3 separate regions of the Homo sapiens genome follow, and all the other regions are linked to region 2. Evidence: promoter capture Hi-C in 16 types of primary human blood cells and fetal thymus (Javierre and others, 2016). All regions are on one chromosome and are shown on one strand. Each heading gives the region's core, a stretch centred on a gene start or on the middle of the fragment in contact. The rest is flanking DNA. Distances are from core to core; before and after follow the strand shown. Region 1 holds the start of CIROZ (ciliated left-right organizer protein containing ZP-N domains). Region 2 holds the start of FBXO2 (F-box protein 2). Region 3 holds the start of TARDBP (TAR DNA binding protein).

Region 1 (3,685 bases), core at 271-2,770, 670 kb after region 2:
CAAGGGCTGCCACGACAGAGTACCACAGACTTGGGATTTACACACCAATTGATTTCTTCACAGTTCTAGAGGCTAGGAGTCTGAGATCAAGGTGCAGGCAGGGCTGGTTTCTCCGGAGCTGCCTCTCTGGCTCACAGCTGGCCATCTTCTCCCTGTGTCCTCACACCGTCATTCCTCCGTATGTGTCCGTGCCCTAATCTCCTCTTCCTTTTTTTTTTTTTTTTTGAGACGGAGTCTTATTGTATCGCCCAGGCTGGAGTGCAATGGCACGATCTCAGCTGTCTGCAATCTCTGCCTTCCAGGTTCAAGCGATTCTCCTGCCTCAGCCTCCAGAGTAGCTGGGATTACAGGTGCCCACCACCAAGCCCGGCTATTTTTTGTATTTTTGGTAGAGACAGGGTTTCACCATGTTGGCCAGGCTGGTCTCAAACTCCTGACCTGATGATCCACCCACCTCAGCCTCCCAAAGTGCTAGGATTACAGGCGTGAGTCACTGCGCCTGGTCTTTTTTTTTTTTTTTTTTTTTTTTTTTTTTTTTTTTTTTTTTTTTAGACGGAGTTTTGCTCTTGTCACCCAGGCTGCAGTACAATGGTACGATCTTGGCTCACTGCAACCTCCATCTCCCGGGTTCAAGCAATTCTCCTGCCTTAACTTCCCAAGTAGCTGGGATTACAGGCGTGCACCCCCACACCTGGCTAGTTTTGTATTTTTAGTAGAGATAAGGTTTCACCATGTTGGCCAGGCTGGTCTCGAAGTCCTGACATCAGGTGATCAGCCTGCCTCGCCCTCCCAAATCACTGGGATTATGGGCATGAGTGACTGTGCCCGGCCCCTTTTTTTTTTTTTTTTAGACAGGGTCTTGTTCTGTTGCCCAGGCTGGAGTGCAGTAGCACAATCAGGGCTCACTGCAGCCTCAACCTCCTGGGCTCAAGCAATCCTCTCACCTCAGCCTCCTGAGTAGCTAGGACCACAGGTGTGTGCCACCATGCCCAGCTAGTTTTTAAATTTTTTGTAGAGACAGGGTCTTGCCATGTTCCCCTGGCTTGTTTCGAACTCCTGACCTCAAACAATCTGCCCATCTCTGCATCCCAAAATGCTGGGGTTACAGGCATGAGCCACCATGCCTGGCCCCTCAGCTCCTTTTGAACTCTGCCAGGAGGGGCCTGGAGCAGGGTTCTGGGAAGCCCCATCAAGACAGCGTGACTGTTCCTCCGGTGAAGCTCAGTTTCTTAGCTTCTTTCCTTCCTTGGGCACAGAGACAGGCTTCTCCCGGGAGCGGAGAATGAGGGCCTGCACTCCAGCCTCAGTGGATCAATTCATCTTCAGCCTTCTGATCCGCAATCTTATTTTGAGCTCCCACGGCTGAAGCAATTCATCTCACCCATGCAGAGGGATGGGGAGAAGCTGAGAGTGTTGACACCCACCTGTGTTTTCTGGCACCTGAGTGACCCGAGACCTGCACTGGAGGGGAAGGGGAGGAGCCAACCTTTCGTTTAGTTGCTTGGAACTGCTTCAGATTAAATTCTCCCAGGGCAGGAGAGAGCTGCTGGGCCTGAGGATGTGGGGGTCCCCAGCACTTGCCTGGTAAGTGTCCCTTATTCAGGAATTGGGAGAAGCCAGTGGCATGCTTAGTGTGCCCACACTCCTTGAAGAAGCCAAATATCTTCCATCAGAATCAGAAGCCTTGCATCTAAGAGGGAAGGGGGCCAAATGGGTGAGGGGCCCAGATGCATGGATGCCTTGGGAAGGGCTGACTTTCTCAGGTGAGGTCCGGCCACAGTCTCTCCCACCTTTCTCATGCTCCTGTCATCCCTTGTTCTGGAATTCCAGTCCTCCCATCTTGGGAAGGATTTCCAGAAGATTGGGAGAAAACAGAACACGTCTTCCTTGTCCTAGAGGGTCCTTAAAACAAAACAAATTAGGGGTCAAGTTGACCAAGAGATGCTTGATTTCAAGGAGTTTTCAAATGATAGGAGTTGTGGTCGCTAGCTATTCGATTGTAAGGATTAGGAGAAAATTTCATTTTCCTTCCTTCCCTCCCTTCCTTCCTTCCCTCCCTGCCTTCCTTCCTTTCTCCTTCCTTCCTTCCCTTTCCTTTCTTTTCTCTTTCTCTCTCTCTCTCCCTCTCTGTCTCTCCTTCTTCCTGAGATAGAGTCTTGCTCTGTTGCCCAGGCTGGAGTGCAGTGGCAAGATCATAGTTCACTGTCATCTCTTAACTCCTGGGCTCAAGTGATCATCCCACTTTAGCCTCCTGAGTAGCTGGGACCATAGGCATGTGCCACCACACTTTGGTAATTTTTTAATTTTTTTGTAGAGACAGGGTCTTACTGTGTTGCCCAGGCTGGTCTTAAACTCCTGGGTTCAAGCCATCCTCCTGTCTCGGCCTCCCAAAGTATTGGGATTACGGGCATGACTCACTGCACTTGGCCAAAATCTCATTTTCCTTGGCAACAGAATTGCTACCTCTTTTCCCCATCTGAGATGCATTTTTAAGAGATACTTTAAAAAGCTCCTGAGAGTGGGAAGTGAAGCCTCCCAGGCCAGCTGGAATGTCACAATAGCTGGCTTGTGGCCTTTGGGCCGTGGACTGCAGGGCTTTTGTTGGGCGTTTTGTGAGGTTGAAGTCTGTAGACAATGAAGGCAGTGGAGAAGCTGAGTGGGGCTTTGTGGGGCTGGGCGAGCAAGGGGGAGGTCCGGGCCCTGTCCTGGGGACCCATTGCCTTCTCCTGGATGCCCCATGAGGGGGCTCAGCTTTGGGGGATGGAGCATCATGTCTCCCCCCAGACTGGGATGGGGCAGTTCTGGGTCTGAGAAGTGAGGGGGAAAAACCCAAACCCACATCTTTCTCCCGATTGATGCTCAAGGAGGAGAACAGGAGCAGGCATCAGACGGAGGGGAGAGCTGTCTACCCCCCACCTGCCACCGGGCCGATTCCAGACAGCATTCCCTGTGTAACAGCAGAGTCGGGGTCCCTGGCAAGGCCGGGACTCAGCACCAGAGTCAGCCACTTTCCTTTTCCCCAAGATTATTCTTCTGGTCCTGTCTCAGATTTACTCGCTCTGGGAGAACCTTCCTTCAAGACCAATTGCCCCAGCCAGGTTTTTGTTTTGCAAATTAATCAACTAATAATAGCGCCTCCCCGCTGCTGGGAGAGGAATTCCGCATTGGGCTCAGTGTCCAGGCAGCAGAGCCCAGGGCGGGTACCCGGCCGTCCATGGGAGAGGCTCGCCACAGGCGCTTCTGAATTCAGCGAATGAAGCGGGGCAGCGGGGCAGCCAGGCAGCCGCAAGCTCCTCCCAGCTCAAAGGCTGCAGGCTCAGCTTAGATTCCAGGCTGGGGAACCAGTCCTGTCATTCTTTGCCAACCCACTCTGGGGAGACTGTGGGCCCTGGCATTTGGCCTCCCTGGGCTGGGCCTGAGGCCCTGGCCCTCTGCCCACCCAGGAATCGAATGGCTCAACGAGGGCAGCCCTAGAAGGAAATGCAGCACCCATTCCTGCCTTTTCACATTGCTTTTTAAACTGTTAACTTTCTTTCTTTCTTTTTTTTGAGACGGAGTTTTGCTCTTGTTGCCCAGGCTGGAGCGCAATGGTGAGATCTCGGCTCACCACAACCTCCACCTCCCAGGTTCAAGCGATTTTCCTGCCTCAGCCTCCTGAGTAGCTGGGATTACAGGCATGCGCCAC
Region 2 (3,151 bases), core at 652-3,151:
AAAAAAAAAAAAAAAAAAGAGTATAGTAAGAATAAGAAACACCACTCTTGGCCTCAGTTTGCCCATCTGAAAAATGTGTGCACTAACAGTAGCTACCTCTTTGGGTTACTGTGAGAGAAGTAAAGGTGTTAAACCATCCAAAGTACCCGGCTCATACTAAGTGCTCAATACATGTTCCTGGTGTCATGACTGTGTACTGGAGGCATGCCAGACCCGGCCTGTACCCCACCTTCAGCGCACGGGTTGTGCAGGAGGTTCCTGTGCAGGCTCCGTAAGAAGTAGAAGATCTTCCAGTCGGCCACGGGCTGGTCCCAGTCCTCAGTGATGAAGCCCTCTCGCAGGCACTTGCGTTTCCAGAGGGTCACGAGGTCGATGAGGTCCCGCCAGAGGCTGCAGACCAGGCGGCAGTTCAGCAGCAGCTGGCGGGCGGGCACGTGCGTGAACAGCTCCAGCAGGATGTTCTCGGGCAGCTCGTTGATGTTCCCCACAGCCATGGCTTGTGGCTTCTGGACACCCTCCTGTAGCTGTTGAAAAGCTATGCTGCAGGCCTCATCCCTGCTCTGCCATTTATCTCGGGAGAGCATGGTGCCTCTCCCAGCCTGTTTCCTTCTCTGTAAATGGATGCCTTACCTCCAGGGGTCACTGGGGCGGTCCAAGGAGCTTGGGACACATCAGGTACTTTAATAAAAGGTGAGCTCTGATTTTTTTCTCTGGCCTCTCACAATAGAGGTGGAAGGCACTGCCCAAGGTCAAAAATAAGGGCAGAGGGGGAAGAAGCCCGGATCTTCTTTGATTCCAGGGCCAGCCTTTTTCAGTAGGCCAGTCTTTAATGGGGATATAATGCGCAGCCGGGCAGAGCACCCCAGGCCTCCGGTGCCGTCACCATCCTCTCTCCCATCCTCAGAACATGATGGGAGGAGGAGGCTAATTATCACTGCCTCCCGCGGAGGTCCAAAGGGCTCCAGCCACCTTCTCAAGATCTCAGAGGACATGATCTCCTGCCTAGGTGGGAGTGGCAAGAGGGTGGGCGACAGGGAAGGGCCCTTCCTATCTCCCCACCCCCACTCCCACCCCCAGCCCCGCGGCTGGGCTCCGCCAGCCCCAAGTCCGCCAGCGCGCCTGCAGCCTCCCCTTCCCACGCTGTGCCTTAAAATGCCCCCCAAAGTCTGGGCTCGGACCCCTGTACATCGATGGCGACCCCAGCCCCCGTTCGCAGCCGCGCAGCGCAGCCCGGGCAAGCTCGGCGGCCTGGGCCTGGTCGGTGCCAGGCCTCCCTCGGCAACTGCGGCGCGACCCGGAACCCAGGAGCCTTCCCGGCAGCCCCCGCCCAGCCGCGCCCCCTCCCCAGCGCCCCCCGCGCCCCCTCCTGCCGGTCACCTGCGCTCGGCCGCCGCGGCACGATCCGTTGGGCCGCCCAAGCTGCACCGCCTGGACCTGCGCTTGCCTGGAAAGCGAGGCCCCGCCCCGGCCCGCCAGGCCCCGCCCCCGCGCCCCGCGCCCCGCCCCGCGCAGCGCTGGGCCAGGGACGCACCCCCACCGCGTCGTAGGAAAATTACCTGGTGTGGGGGGTGGGGCGGAAGGCACCTCCTATACTCCGACTCCGCCTGGGCCACCCGCCCCTCACCCTCGGCCTGACCCAGCCTCTCCGTGCCTCCCCTAGCCGCCTCCTCCCAGCAGTCCCCCAGGAGCGAGCTGCGAGATGCCCCAAATCGGACCCCTCCCCAGTTGGAAAAAAAACGACTCCTGACCTTTCCCAGCCTCCTCGGTCCGCTGAGGAACCCGCAGCCCCGGGCCTCGAGCAGACTGCTGGGACTGCGGGGCGGCCGGGCGCGGGGCCAGAGGCGGGGCGGGGCGGGTCGGGTCGGGGGCCTTTAAGAGGCGCGGTCGCCGGGACCGACACAGACGCGGACAGCGCCGGGACTCGCCGCCCCGGGACTCGCGCAGCCCGCAGCGCTCCGGCTCCTCCTCTCGCGACCGCCCTCCGCAGCGATGGACGGAGACGGTGACCCAGGTAGCCGACGCCTGGACCGCTCGCTGCGGCGGGGAGGGGAGATGGGGTCGGCGGGCGAGCGCTGCACAGAGGGGCGTCAGAGAGCGAGGGGACCCGGAGACCTGGCGCGGCAAACTTTCACGCCAGCGAAGCCCTAGAGGCGGTCTCCAAAGAGCACGTCTCTCTGCTATCTTGGTCTGGCGGGAGGCCTTGAGAGGCGACTGGCAAGGAGAGAGAACTCCTGGGTCCCATTTAGCCAGGAAGTAGCACCAGAGGACCCCCACATTCCCGCCTCCCAGCTTCCTGAGGGTCTGTCTGGCGGGGGCCTGGGATGCGTCTGGGAGGGAGGCTGCGAGCCTTTTCTTTCATCAGCTCTTCCAGCTCTGGGCCTTGGGCCGTCTGAATCCCCGTGGGTTCCTTGGGGTCCCAGGCCTGGCCTCACCTATTCCTGCCTTCCTCCTGAGCTCCCTTGTCTGGAGGGGCTGCCCCTCCCCGGGGTGGTGAGATGCCCAGTGGGGACCCGACTAGCGGTGAGGGAGCGTTGGGGGCAGCTTTGGCTGGTGCTCAGGGCCTTCCCAGGCTGCCCAGTCATCCTCTCTGGCACCCAAGACCCCTCACCCCCATCCCTCCAACTCCCTGCGGGGCCTGCAGGGGTTGCCTGCTGAGTCAGGATGGAAACAAGACCTGCCTGCAGACAGCCCTCACTCTTTCCTCATCAGGTCCAGCTGGGGATGGGCATTGCTTGGGTTAGGCGGTGGCAAACAGACTGATGAAAGCTCAGGCCCCCCCTCACCCCCCATTCCCCCGCCTCCAGCCCTGAAAATTCCAGCTCTCGCAGCCCTTGCTCCCAATCCACGGCCTTCTGGCCACACCCTCTGTAGGGCTCCAGAACTGGCTCCTGCTTTTTCCCAGGGATCAGCTATACCCTGGACTCTGGGGCCCACTCCAGGTGAGTGAGTCAGCCTCGCAGGCAGGCAGCTTCCAGGGGCCAGATAACTTTCCGCCGGCAACAATGTGGGGAGTTGTGTGTGTAAGAGAGAGGGTGGGGGGAGCTGTAATTGGATCTGGGGCCTCGAGTGCCAGGCCCCGGGGCCAGAAGAGGGGACTGGGTGAGGTGCACCTTTCGGGGAGCATCAGGTGTCCGATGGGGCCAGGGCCGGA
Region 3 (3,568 bases), core at 154-2,653, 640 kb after region 2:
CATTCTGCCACCAAAAGAGGCTAAGATCCATGGATGAGACACACACCTGAACACACTTCAGCATGATTACAAAAACCAAATGGTAACAAACCTTTTGGATAGTTGACAACATACACCAGATTTCCCCAGCCAGCATCTGGGGCATGCAGAATTCCTTCTACCAGCCGGACACCTCTCATACACTGAGACACTGGATTCCTGTAGCGAAGCCCACACGCCCCTGGAAACTGGGCTGTAACCGTGGAGAGCAGCACCGTCCCATCGTCTTCCGATGGTATTTCAATGGGCTCATCGTTCTCATCTTCGGTTACCCGAATATATTCAGACATCTTTTACTTTTCCTAAAGAGAAAAGAGATATGAATGAACAACATTCATGTCAGAATAACTGTTTCCTTATAATGATAATACCCAAACCATGTCAGAGTTCTGACTTCCAGAAAAATGCTTGTCTGGATTCGTATATGCATTGGTTATCCCTGAAAAATGACGAGGTGAAGGTAAGGGTAGTGATTTCCTATCAAAATGTGATGCCTCGCCAGTTCATTCATTCAAAAAACTTTCCCTGAAGGCTTATGATGCGTCAGGTACTGAAACTGTAACTGTGAGTCCAACGTGGCTTGCTGGTTACAAGCTAGGGTATGCAAGGGAACAATAAACAGTAGCTATTTTATGACAATCGGGTTAGTCGTTAAGTAATCCTGAAGGCAGAGGAGGAGCCTAACTGGCTGAGGCATGGGCGTGATAGGTCCCAGTCGATTTTCCTAAGCAAGCGATCCATCAGCTGAACCTGAAGACTGAATATGGGCAGTGAACCAGGTGTAAAGAACAGGAGAAAAGTTTCCCTCTGTTCCTCATTTTGGGGCTTCCGGGGGCTCTGCGAGCCCGAGCCCCAAGGCCCGCGGCGACAGGTCCTGGCGGTGCCGGCCGTCGCCTCCCAGAAGCCCGCGCGTGCCAGCCGAGGGAGGAGTTTCTCGGCGCGGCCCGGGGTGGGGCGCAGGAGCACCAGGCCCAAGCTGGCAGCGTCCCTCGAAGTACAAAGTACCGAAGGCTCCGGCACTGTCCGGGTCCGGGGCCAACCTCCGCCTCAGGCTACGCGGCACCGCGGGCCCGGCCCCCCGTTTCGGCGCCACCGGCCTCCCCGTGCCAGGACCTAACGACGCTCCCGCGCGAGCCCGCTCGGGCAGGACTAGGCCCGGTCTCACGGCTGACTTCCCGGGGCAGGGTCCGAAGCCGCTGCGTCTGCCTCGGGCCGCCCCAATGCAGAAGCCGAGGCACCTACGGCGTCCTCAGTGAGAAGGCTCCGCGACTCACCCGCTAGGCCGCTGCTGGGAAGCCCGACAGGGACACCGAAGCAGCGACGGACCCAAGCGCAGCCCAGCCACCGCTTCGCTCCCACAAAATGGCGCTAGGGCCGCCTCCTCCCCCCGCCCACCGGCGTCCTCTCCCACCGGTTGCCTGTCCAGAGGTGGAAGGCACCGACGAGAGCCACGATGACCCTCTCCCCAGGGACTCGGGCTGCCTCCTGGAAATTCAAGCCTACAGAGAAGCTCTGAAAGCTAAAATAAAACCAGGACCTAGGCCTGAAAAGCTGAAGATTGAAAAAAGTGTGGCTGTATAGGAGCTGACCTCCCCCCACGTAACGTAGCAGATGGTTTCGGCCGACCAACCGCCGGCCCAGGTCTCGGTCGGAGCTCGCGCACTTTCAAAGCGCGCGAGAGTAGCACAGAGTCTCGGCCAGCGAGGGCGGGGCGGGGCGGGGCCTGGAGGGGGCGGGGCTCGGGATCCCGGGCCGAGTCCACCTGGGAGGCAGGATAAGGCCTGGACCCCTTTTCTGAAAGGCAACCTAGTGCGTCTTCTCCTCCCTCCGCCAGCCCACCTCCAAACCTGGAAACAATAACTTTGTTCTAAATAATAGCAATGATAAGGCTACTTTGTGCCAGGTACTTTCTGAGTATTCACATATTTAATAGCCCAAACAGTTTTGTGTAGCAGGAGCTATTGATATTCATTCTGCGGGTGAGGAAACTGAGGCACAGAGAGATCAAGTGTCTTGCTTAAAGTGACGCAAGGATTAGCCGGGCGGTAGTGGCGCGCGCCTGTAGTCCCATCTACTCGGGAGCCTGAAGCAGGAGAATTGCTTGAACGCGGTAGGCGGAGGTTGCGGTGAGCCGAGATCGCGCCACTTCACTCCAGTCTAGGCGACAGAGTGAGACCCTGTCCTCCAGCCCCTCCCCCCAAAAAAATGTCACCCAAGGAATAAATGGTAGACCTGGGATTTGAATCTCGAGGCACAAAATGCTAACTTGTTCTGGCTCCAGCCCTTTAATAATAATAATAATACAGTACTTCATCTATTTTAAGGCACACTTTTTGTTTCACTTTTTTTTTTTTTTTTTTTGAGACGGAGTCTCGCTCTTGTCCCCCAGGCTGGAGTGCAGTGGCGCAATCTGCAGCTCACTGCCACTTCCAACTCCTAGGTTCAAGGGATAGCTGGGATTATAGGCGTGCAAAGACACCATGCCCGGCTAATTTTTGTATTTTTAGTAGAGACAGGGTTTGGCCATGTTGGCCAGGCTGATCTCGAACTCATGGCCTCAAGTGATCCGCCTGCCTCAGCTCCCCAAAGTGCTGGGATTACAGGCACGAGCCACCTTTCTTTTCTATCTTTTCTTTCCTTTCTTTCCTTTCCTTCCCTTCCTTTCCTCCCTTCCCTCCCTTTCCCCCCCTTCCCTCCCTTCCCACCTTCCTTCCTCCCTACCTCTCTCTCTTTCTCTCTCTCTCTCTTTCTTTTCTCTTCCTTTTTTTCAGACTCCCTCTGTTGCCTAAGGTGGAGTGCAGTGGCACAATCTCAGCTCACTGCAACCTCCGCCTCCCCGGTTCAAGCAATTCTCCTGCCTCAGCCTCCTGAGTAGTTGGGTCTACAGGCATGCACCACCATGCCCGGCTAATTTTTGTATTTTTAACCCCTGTTGGCCAGGCTGGTCTCAAACTCCTGACCTCAGGTGATCCGCCCACCTCGGCCTCCCAAAGTGCCACCACGCCCGGCCTTTGTTTCACATTTCTTTTTTTTTTCTTTTTTCTTTTTTTTGAGATGGAGTCTCGCTCTTTTGCCCAGGCTGGACTGCAGTGGCGCTATCTCGGCTCACTGCACGCTCCGCCTCCCGGGTTCACTCTATTCTCCTGCCTCAGCCTACTGAGTAGCTGGGACCACAGGCGCCCGCCACCACGCCCGGCTAATTTTTTTGTGTTTTTAATAGAGACGGGGTTTCACCGTGTTAGCCAGGATGGTCTCAATCTCCTGACCTCGTGATCCGCCCGCCTCGGCCTCCCAAAGTGCTGGGATTACAGGCGTGAGCCACCGCGACCGGCCAATGTTTCACATTGCTGAAGTCAGTATGTGATTTCAGTTCCAGTTCCAGTTGATGATGATGTGTCATAGTTTAACTGGCAACTATTTATGTTTCTTTGTATATACATGTATCACACTCAATGAAATACAGTTACAAGTGTTTACACAAAATACTTTATTTATTTATTTAAGATGGGGTCTCACTCTGTCACCCAGG

Evidence for each region. Contacts are between HindIII fragments. The CHiCAGO score rates a contact against its expected background, and 5 or more counts as called.
Region 1: the fragment with the promoter of CIROZ here is called in contact with the fragment with the promoter of FBXO2 in region 2 in 2 of 17 cell types (M0 macrophages and total B cells); the score reaches 6.8 in M0 macrophages.
Region 3: the fragment with the promoter of TARDBP here is called in contact with the fragment with the promoter of FBXO2 in region 2 in 9 of 17 cell types (M2 macrophages, activated CD4 T cells, fetal thymus and 6 more); the score reaches 6.0 in M2 macrophages.

The regions. Positions count from the first base shown.
Region 1 is chr1:10,979,911-10,983,595 of GRCh38, reverse strand. CIROZ (ciliated left-right organizer protein containing ZP-N domains) reads left to right here and starts at 1,520. Exons shown (of 13, transcript NM_001170754.2): 1 at 1,520-1,584. The coding sequence starts at 1,559. The HindIII fragment of the contact is 7,392 bases long and covers 1-3,685 here.
Region 2 is chr1:11,653,179-11,656,329 of GRCh38, reverse strand. FBXO2 (F-box protein 2) reads left to right here and starts at 1,901. Exons shown (of 6, transcript NM_012168.6): 1 at 1,901-2,011. The coding sequence starts at 1,990. FBXO44 (F-box protein 44) reads right to left here and starts at 1,453. Exons shown (of 6, transcript NM_033182.7): 1 at 1,378-1,453; 2 at 230-524. The coding sequence starts at 494. RefSeq lists silencers at 1,222-1,291, 1,342-1,571, 1,812-1,951. The HindIII fragment of the contact is 12,019 bases long and covers 1-3,151 here.
Region 3 is chr1:11,010,489-11,014,056 of GRCh38, reverse strand. TARDBP (TAR DNA binding protein) reads right to left here and starts at 1,403. Exons shown (of 6, transcript NM_007375.4): 1 at 1,314-1,403; 2 at 92-341. The coding sequence starts at 329. RefSeq lists silencers at 85-331, 1,741-1,970 and enhancers at 693-1,660, 1,371-1,700. The HindIII fragment of the contact is 20,579 bases long and covers 1-3,568 here.